3 separate regions of the Homo sapiens genome follow, and all the other regions are linked to region 1. Evidence: promoter capture Hi-C in 16 types of primary human blood cells and fetal thymus (Javierre and others, 2016). All regions are on one chromosome and are shown on one strand. Each heading gives the region's core, a stretch centred on a gene start or on the middle of the fragment in contact. The rest is flanking DNA. Distances are from core to core; before and after follow the strand shown. Region 1 holds the start of GPA33 (glycoprotein A33). Region 2 overlaps POU2F1 (POU class 2 homeobox 1). Region 3 overlaps POU2F1 (POU class 2 homeobox 1).

Evidence for each region. Contacts are between HindIII fragments. The CHiCAGO score rates a contact against its expected background, and 5 or more counts as called.
Region 2: a contact is called between a fragment that was not itself captured here and the fragment with the promoter of GPA33 in region 1, in 5 of 17 cell types (total B cells, naive B cells, naive CD8 T cells and 2 more). The highest score is 7.6, in total B cells.
Region 3: a fragment that was not itself captured here is called in contact with the fragment with the promoter of GPA33 in region 1 in 2 of 17 cell types (neutrophils and total B cells); the score reaches 6.1 in neutrophils.

Annotation. Positions count from the first base shown.
Region 1 is chr1:167,089,055-167,091,678 of GRCh38, reverse strand. GPA33 (glycoprotein A33) reads left to right here and starts at 1,302. Exons shown (of 7, transcript NM_005814.3): 1 at 1,302-1,434. The coding sequence starts at 1,392. LOC124904451 (a long non-coding RNA gene) reads right to left here. Exons shown (of 3, transcript XR_007066717.1): 2 at 2,268-2,356; 3 at 298-893. RefSeq lists an enhancer at 1,127-1,276. The HindIII fragment of the contact is 4,295 bases long and covers 533-2,624 here.
Region 2 is chr1:167,384,896-167,387,519 of GRCh38, reverse strand. All of the region lies in intron 8 of POU2F1 (POU class 2 homeobox 1), which reads right to left. Among named protein-coding and RNA genes, the nearest start is that of CD247, 130 kb to the left of the region's middle. The HindIII fragment of the contact is 864 bases long and covers 863-1,726 here.
Region 3 is chr1:167,367,670-167,370,293 of GRCh38, reverse strand. POU2F1 (POU class 2 homeobox 1) reads right to left here. Exons shown (of 16, transcript NM_002697.4): 4 at 80-133. Among named protein-coding and RNA genes, the nearest start is that of POU2F1, 150 kb to the right of the region's middle. The HindIII fragment of the contact is 7,500 bases long and covers 1-2,624 here.

The DNA of each region.
Region 1 (2,624 bases), core at 53-2,552:
TCAGCCCACCTTGGCCTCTCAAAGTGCTGTGATTACAGGCGTGAGCCACCGCGCCTGGCCAAATTTCACTAATAATTTTAAAAAGTAAATTATATATACATGGGATATCATGTTCACTTAGATTGGCGATGAGCAGAAAGTTTGATAACTGTGTCATAAACACTTGGTAACTGTGTTAGTGAGTGTGTGGGGAGATAGGTATCCTTATATGCTGCTAATAGGAGTGTAGGCTGTAAAATTCTCATGGTAGCTAGTTTAGCAATATCTATAAAAATTACAAATATGCATAACTTTCAGTGAGTCAGAAATTTTACTTTTAAGAATTTATCTTACATGTATAATCACAACACGTGTGAAATATCGTACACATAATAGATATTGGTTGCAATCTTTTCATAGTTGTGAAAGATGAGGAAAAACAATCTTAAAAGTAGTTTGGTTAAATAAATCATGTCACTCATATACAGTGAAATATCATCCCCATTTTAAAAAGATGATGGTGGTGGTGCTATACATACCGATACAGAAAGCTTTCTAAAACCTTTCATTAAATGAAAAATGAATAAATCATTGCAGAACAGTGTATATATATCTAAAATATCTATGGAAGAAACCAGCAACAGCCACTGCTCCTGGAGAATTATGGTCCCACACCACTGATCATTCTTTCAGTAGGGTGACCATCATCCAAATTTGCTTGGGACTGAGGGGGTTCCTTTTGGTTTGAAAACCAGGACAGTCCTAGGAAAAGTGAGACAAGTTGGTCACATGTCCCCAAGATGATCTTCTTTCACTTATGAACTTGCTACTTTCCCAGTCAGAATATAAACTCTGAAGGGGGAGACTTCCTGTTTTCTTCATGACTATATCTCTTGCGCACTGTGGGGTGGAGGCTGTAGAAGAGGAGAGAAGTAGAGAAACAGATCACATTGTGTCTTGAAGTGTTTCAGCAAATATGGGCAACACCCTTCTTTTACTAGCTTGGAACCCTACCTCTGAGTGCATTTCCCTTTTTATTATTTATTTCCTGTCAGTTATAAGAGAGGCCTACCCCTTTGTGAGCAGTCTAGGACTTTGTACACTTGTTAAGTAGGGAGAAGGCAGGGGAGGTGGCTGGTTTAAGGGGAACTTGAGGGAAGTAGGGAAGACTCCTCTTGGGACCTTTGGAGTAGGTGACACATGAGCCCAGCCCCAGCTCACCTGCCAATCCAGCTGAGGAGCTCACCTGCCAATCCAGCTGAGGCTGGGCAGAGGTGGGTGAGAAGAGGGAAAATTGCAGGGACCTCCAGTTGGGCCAGGCCAGAAGCTGCTGTAGCTTTAACCAGACAGCTCAGACCTGTCTGGAGGCTGCCAGTGACAGGTTAGGTTTAGGGCAGAGAAGAAGCAAGACCATGGTGGGGAAGATGTGGCCTGTGTTGTGGACACTCTGTGCAGGTGAGTAGGCCCCTTTTCTCTCCAGTGCCCAGGGGTGGGTGAGACATGGGGACCTAGGGCTGAAGGAGAGGCTCTGTCAGAGCCTTCCCAGGAAGGGCCTCCAGCAACACAGCTGCGTTCCTGCTGGGCCAGAATTACACATTCCGGACCAGTGCCCAGAATCAGAATGGTTTTTATTTACATATTAGTAAATAACATTCTAGCCCACTGCTGAAATGAAGAATTCAAAGTACTCTCAAGACCATATTTTCTTATCCCAAATTAGATTATAGGATCAGACACAGGATTTGACAATGTGGACAAAGTATTTGAAATCGGAGTTGTCCTAGAAAATCCAGGATGTGTGGATCTAGATATGTTCATTATCTAGTATATTAACGTTTGTGTTAAAACCAGAGAAAGAGACAGGAAACTGAGGCAGAAGAGACAATGCAACTTATCCCGTATCATTCACAGAGCAAGAGAAGATTCAAACCCTAAAAACAAACAACAAACTAGATGGGTCTTTTCCAAAGGCCAAAGCTCCTTGCCACTTCTGGGACCCTGGTCATTGAAAATTCTGGGACTCTGAGCATTTCCCTCTGGGAGGGAAACCTCCCAGAACAAAATCAGACATTCATGAGTATATGGTTGAATCCACATCAAGTGCTTAATAGCACAGTGTTCTGTGGGGACCTATGGAGTGTCTAAGGGTTAGAATGAAAGTCTTGGCATTAAGGTACCAACCATTTTGCTGGGCATTGGAAGGAAATAGAATGGAGAGAAGGAAGTTGAGAGACGCAGGGTTTGGCAAAGTTTAGGAATATCTTTGGTTTAGTGTATTTGGCCATCACCTTGCAATTCAGACACTGTTGAGGGCTTCCAGGATCCAGCTGCAACGGGGAGGAGAAGAGCTATACCAGGAAACTCAGGAGCACCAAGCCTGGGGAAGTGGAAACCAGGAGACTGGTTTAGAGCTCACTTTTTAGCATACACAGGAAAGCCCCGGGCCACGGGGCCTACAGCTCATTCTGGTTCTCCCAGGCCCTAGACATGCTTTTCTCTCAACACCTGGCCTTGGGGCTCTCGAGGGAAGGGCAGCCTGCTGCTGGGGAAGGGCTGGATCACACGGTTTGGAGGAAGATCTGGGTAAGATCATTCTCTCAGGCTGGCTCAAGTTCATCTGACTGAAGGCAGAAAGCCCCTCATCA
Region 2 (2,624 bases), core at 45-2,544, 300 kb before region 1:
AACTGGAGTTAAGTTCCTCTCTTATCCTGTTTCAATGACAATAACAAAGTTCATTTCTATGTCATGCTGACACTGCGTAATTTTCAACCTGACCATTTTGGAGGAGCCAAAACGAGCACCAACCATAGCAGACCCCTATGTAGCTGTACATTTCTCACAGCGAAACTGGTTGACAGTTACAGGTGAGTCTTAACTATCACATTGTTACTTCATCTCCGGGCCTGAAGTAGCCCCATTCTCAAATAATAAAGGACTAAAAATCGCTTGGGTACCTTTAGATGGGGTGGTTACAGATAAGTTACCCCAGCTCCAGAAACCTCAGGCTGGACTGGGCCAGATCTAGAAATGGCAGAGTAGAATTCAGTGAGCAGGAGTCAGGATGAAGCCACAACGGCCCTGCCACCATATGCAGAGAACGGAGGCCAGGAAGAAGTCTCTGGTATAGGCTTTTTTCAAAATCCCAACCTCACTCTTGCATTCAGCATATTCACAAATTCACCATTTAAAAGGGCAAAGTATATGTTTCAGCAACTACAGTCATACAACTGCTACTAATTGCAGTAGCAGTTACTACAGATAGTAGTAGATACAGAACATTCTCATCACTCCCAAAAGTTCCCTTGTTCCCTTTGCAGTTAATCCCCACCATTAGCCCCCCGTCCCTGGCAACCACTAATATGTTTTATGTACCTTAGTTTTGTCTTTTCTAAAATGCCATGTGCATTGAATCATACTGTATGCAGTCTTTTATGTCTTCTTTCATGTAGTATAATGCTTTTGAGATTCACAGGAGATGCATGTATCAGAAGCACGTTTCTTTTTACTGCAAAGTAGCATTCCATCATATGGATATGCTAAAGCTTATGTTACCTAGTCACCAGCTGATGTATATTTAGGTTGTTTCCAGTTTGAGGTGAATAAAGCTGCTAGAAACATTCACATACAAGTCTTTGTGTGGACGTATGCTTTCATTTCTAGGGACAGAACTGCTGGGTCACAAGGTACATGCACATTTAATTTTATAAGAAACTGCCAGCCTGGTGCGGTGGCTCACGCCTGTCATCTCAACACTTTGGGAGGCCAAGACACGCAGATTGCTTGAGCCCAGGGGTTCAAGACCAGCCTAGGCAACATGGCGAAACCCCATCTCTACAAAAAATAGCTGGGCATGGTGATGCACGCCTGTAGTCCCAGCTACTCAGGAGGCTGATGCGGGAGGATTGCTTGAGCTTGGGAGGTCAGGCTGCTAGAGTGGGCTGTGATTGTGCCACTGCACTCCAGCCTGGGTGACAGAGCAAGACCTTGCCTCCCCCTCACCCCCCCAAAAAGAAACTGCCAAAATAATTTCCAAAGTGTGTATACCATTTTGCAACACCACTAAGCAATGTATGAGAACTCTAGTCGCTTTACCTTCTTGCCAACACTTGGTTTTGTCATAGCCTTTTAAATTTTGCTTATTCTAGTGACTGTGTAGTGATATTTCATTTAAATTTTCCTGATCACTAACGGTTTTTGAGCATCTTTTCATATGCCTGCTGGACATTTACATATCATCTTTGGTGACGTATCTCCAATTTTTTTGCTGCCCATTCCTTTAAATCAGATTGTCTTATTATTAACTTGAATGAGTTCTTTAGACATTCTGAACACAAATGTTTTATCAGATATGTTTCATAAATATTTTCTCCCCATCTGTGGTTTTCTTTTCATTCACTTGAGAGAAGCTTTTGATTTTTATGAAATTAAATTTATCCATTATTTTATGGTGCTTTTTGTGTCCTATTTAAGAAATCCTTGCCTAACCCAAGGACACAAAGATTTTTTTCCAAGCTTTTTTCTCTAAGTTTAGGTCTATGACCCATCAAACAAATCTTTGTACATGGTGTGAAATAATAGTCAAGGTTTTTTATTTTTTTTCCCTATTGTTTCAGCTGCATTTTTTGAATGACTTTTTTTTTCCCATTGAAATCCTTTGGCACCTTTGGCAAATCAGTTGGCCATATACATGTGGATCTACTGGACCTTCTATTCTGTTCCACTGATCTCTATTTCTATCCATATGCCAGTATTACACTGTCTTCATTACTTGAGTTTTATAATTATTCTTGACATCAGTAGTCCTTCAATTTTCTTCTCAAAATCGTTTGGTTATTCTGTGTTTTCTACAGTTCTATATAAATGTTAGAAACAGTATGCAAATTTCTACAAAAAAGCCTGCTAGGTATTGGTTGAGACTGTTGAATCTAGAGGTCAATTTGGGAAAAACTGACATTTTAACATTTAACTTAAGTCTTCTGATTCATGAACATATTACTTCTTTCTATTTTATAGGTCTTTAATTTTATGCAGCAATGTTCTATAGTTTTCAACTATAGAACTATTTGTATAGGCCTTACAAATATTTTGTTGTTTACCCCTAAGTACTGTAAATTTCTTTTTCTTAATTTCAATTTCCAAATGCTCACTGCTAGTGTATAGAAATGTAAATGATTTTTATATATTGAGTTTGTATCATACTTGCTAAGCTCACTTATTCCAGTAGCTTTTTTTGGTAGATTCCTTAAGATTTTCTACATAGACAATCATGTCATCTAGCAACTAAGATAGTTTTACTTCTTCCTTTC
Region 3 (2,624 bases), core at 40-2,539, 280 kb before region 1:
ATAAAATATATGCTCACTACAGAAAAATATAAGAAAAAATAAATAAAAGATTGACCCATAATCCCAGGTCCCAGCTTACCTGTACATTTAAAGACTGAGCAGCAGCCTGTAAACTTGTTCCAGCGAGTTGGACCTATAAGTAATCAGGGGAAGTTCTAGTTTAATACTGTTGACATTCATCACAAGGGGTTGTCATCACTAAATAAAGTCTACTATGTGTCACCGAGCTAGAACTGAGAAGACAAAGAAGTTTGTCTTACGGAGTTAAAACTTTATGAACAAGCTCAGTCCCTTCTCAACCCACCCTACCCCACCCCAACGGGTCCCACAGAAAAATGCTGTTAATCTTTTTTTGAAGATGTTTTCCCACACTAAATGAACATTATCAGCCATGCCACACTTGTATTGAATGCTCCTTACATAACATTGTTTGTATTCACAGAATGCTTAAGATTCTAAAAATTTAATTAACCTTCCACATTGTGTTAAAGAACATATAAGCTATCTATATACATTCTTTATTATTAGAAACAATCAGAACCATCTACTTATTTTAATTTTGAATGTTCCATGTATACACCAGAGTAGAAATATATTTACACACCCACACAGCCAAGTCCTTAAAACATTTATAATCATAACTTAAAACTCTTAGCTGAAATAGAAAATCTACCCTATAAACCACACATAAAAGTCTGTCAAAACATTTAATACATTTCATACATTCAGAAAGTTCAAATCATGGTTATGTGAAAATAAGGATACACATGGAATTAAGACCATCATTTGGCAACTATGATAATAACTATGATTTAGGCAGAGTCATCAATGGATAACTAATGGGTGAGAAATCTGAGGAGTAACAGGATATTTACATATTCTCAGCTATGTCTCCAATGATACTTGATACTCACAAAGGGTAAAATAGTATCTTTTCAGTGGAGAAACCTGGCAGACAAATAATCAAGTGAGCACAAACAAGAGTCACCAGGAAGGAGACACAGGCCTTCTGCTAAGATGCACTGAGAGGAATACAGCATTGCTTATGCTGCATCCCTAACAAAAGTGTAGAATCTGAATCTAATCATGATGAAAATCAGACAAACCCAAACTGAGAAACACTACAAAATAACCAGTGTACACTGTTCAAAACAGTCAATGTCCTGAAACAAAGAAAGACTGAGGAGGGAGAAAGAGACTATAAACTAGGCTAGAATAAATGGAAAACTAAACTAGAATGGTGGCAGTGGGAATAAAAAGTAGGAAACATGAAAGTCTCTGCAATGCACTACATAAGGATCCTGACTGGATTTAGATTAAAAAAAGAGAGTCATGCATTATTCCAGGGTTCAAATCTGGGCAACTGGAAAATGGTAGTACCACTAACAGGGACAGAGAAGATAATGAGTTCCATTTTGTATACACCAGATAGCATCAAGATGTCCTGAGATTAAATATAAATGTTGGTATGGAGCTCAGTGAAGAGTTAAGAGCTAAAATGAATTGACTACTATGTCCTTTATTTGAAACTGCTAGTCCTGTTAGTAGATGAGAACCCTCAAACACAAAAACAAAAAACCAAAATCTGAAGACATATGTAGAACACATTTAAAATACAGTGTAATCAGGAGAGGCCTATCTGAACAGATAATATGTTTAAGGCCTAAAGGCTAAGAAGTCAAAGAGCCCAAGGAAAGAACTTCAGGTACAAAGATTTGAAGAAGATAAAAATTTTATGTGATTTTTACTTATTACGTTTCAGGGTAAAAGTCTGTTGAGGAATGGGATATTTACACAGTCTTTAAAGTACTGCCTCACAGAGTATTACTTACCAGGAGGCAAAAAGACATATTTACAGTGGACAAATCTAATAAACACTACCTTAATAAAATAATCAAACTTAATATCACAATAATGGGACAAAGCAATATGATACGGCTTCTGAATGCACCGAGAGGGACTCAGCATCATTTCTGCTGTATTCCTTTCAAAAATGCATAACTTGGGTTCAGCCGTTGAGGGAACAATCATATTCAAGTTAAATGGGCATTCTATCAAACAGCTGGCCTCTATTCTTCAAAAATGCCAATATCATGAAAGACAAAGACATGCTGAGGAATTGTTCTGGATTGAAGAAGACTTAACAGACATGACAGCTAAACGCAAAGTATGGACTGGATTGTGGGCAGGAAGTATATAAATATGGGCCAATATTGGAAAATGATATCGTATCAATGTTAAATTTCTGGAATTTGAAATTTGCACTGCAGTTTTATAAGAGAATGCTGTTTTTAGGAAAAACATGCTGAAGTATTTAGAAGTAAATGGTTATAATGTCTGCAACTTTCAAAGGGGTTAGCAAAAAACAATTTTTTTTGGCTCGGTGCCATGGTGTACGCCTATAATCACAGTTAGATGCAAGGCAAGAAGATCCCTTGAGCTCAGGAGTTGCAGATCAACCTGGGCAACATAATAAGACCTCATTTCAAAAAAAAAAAATTTGTACGTGTACATACATACATATACACATATGGTAAAAGCAAAATGTATTTTGTATGTGTACATACATACATATACACATATGGTATAAAGCAAATATGGTAAAATAGTAACAACTGGTGATT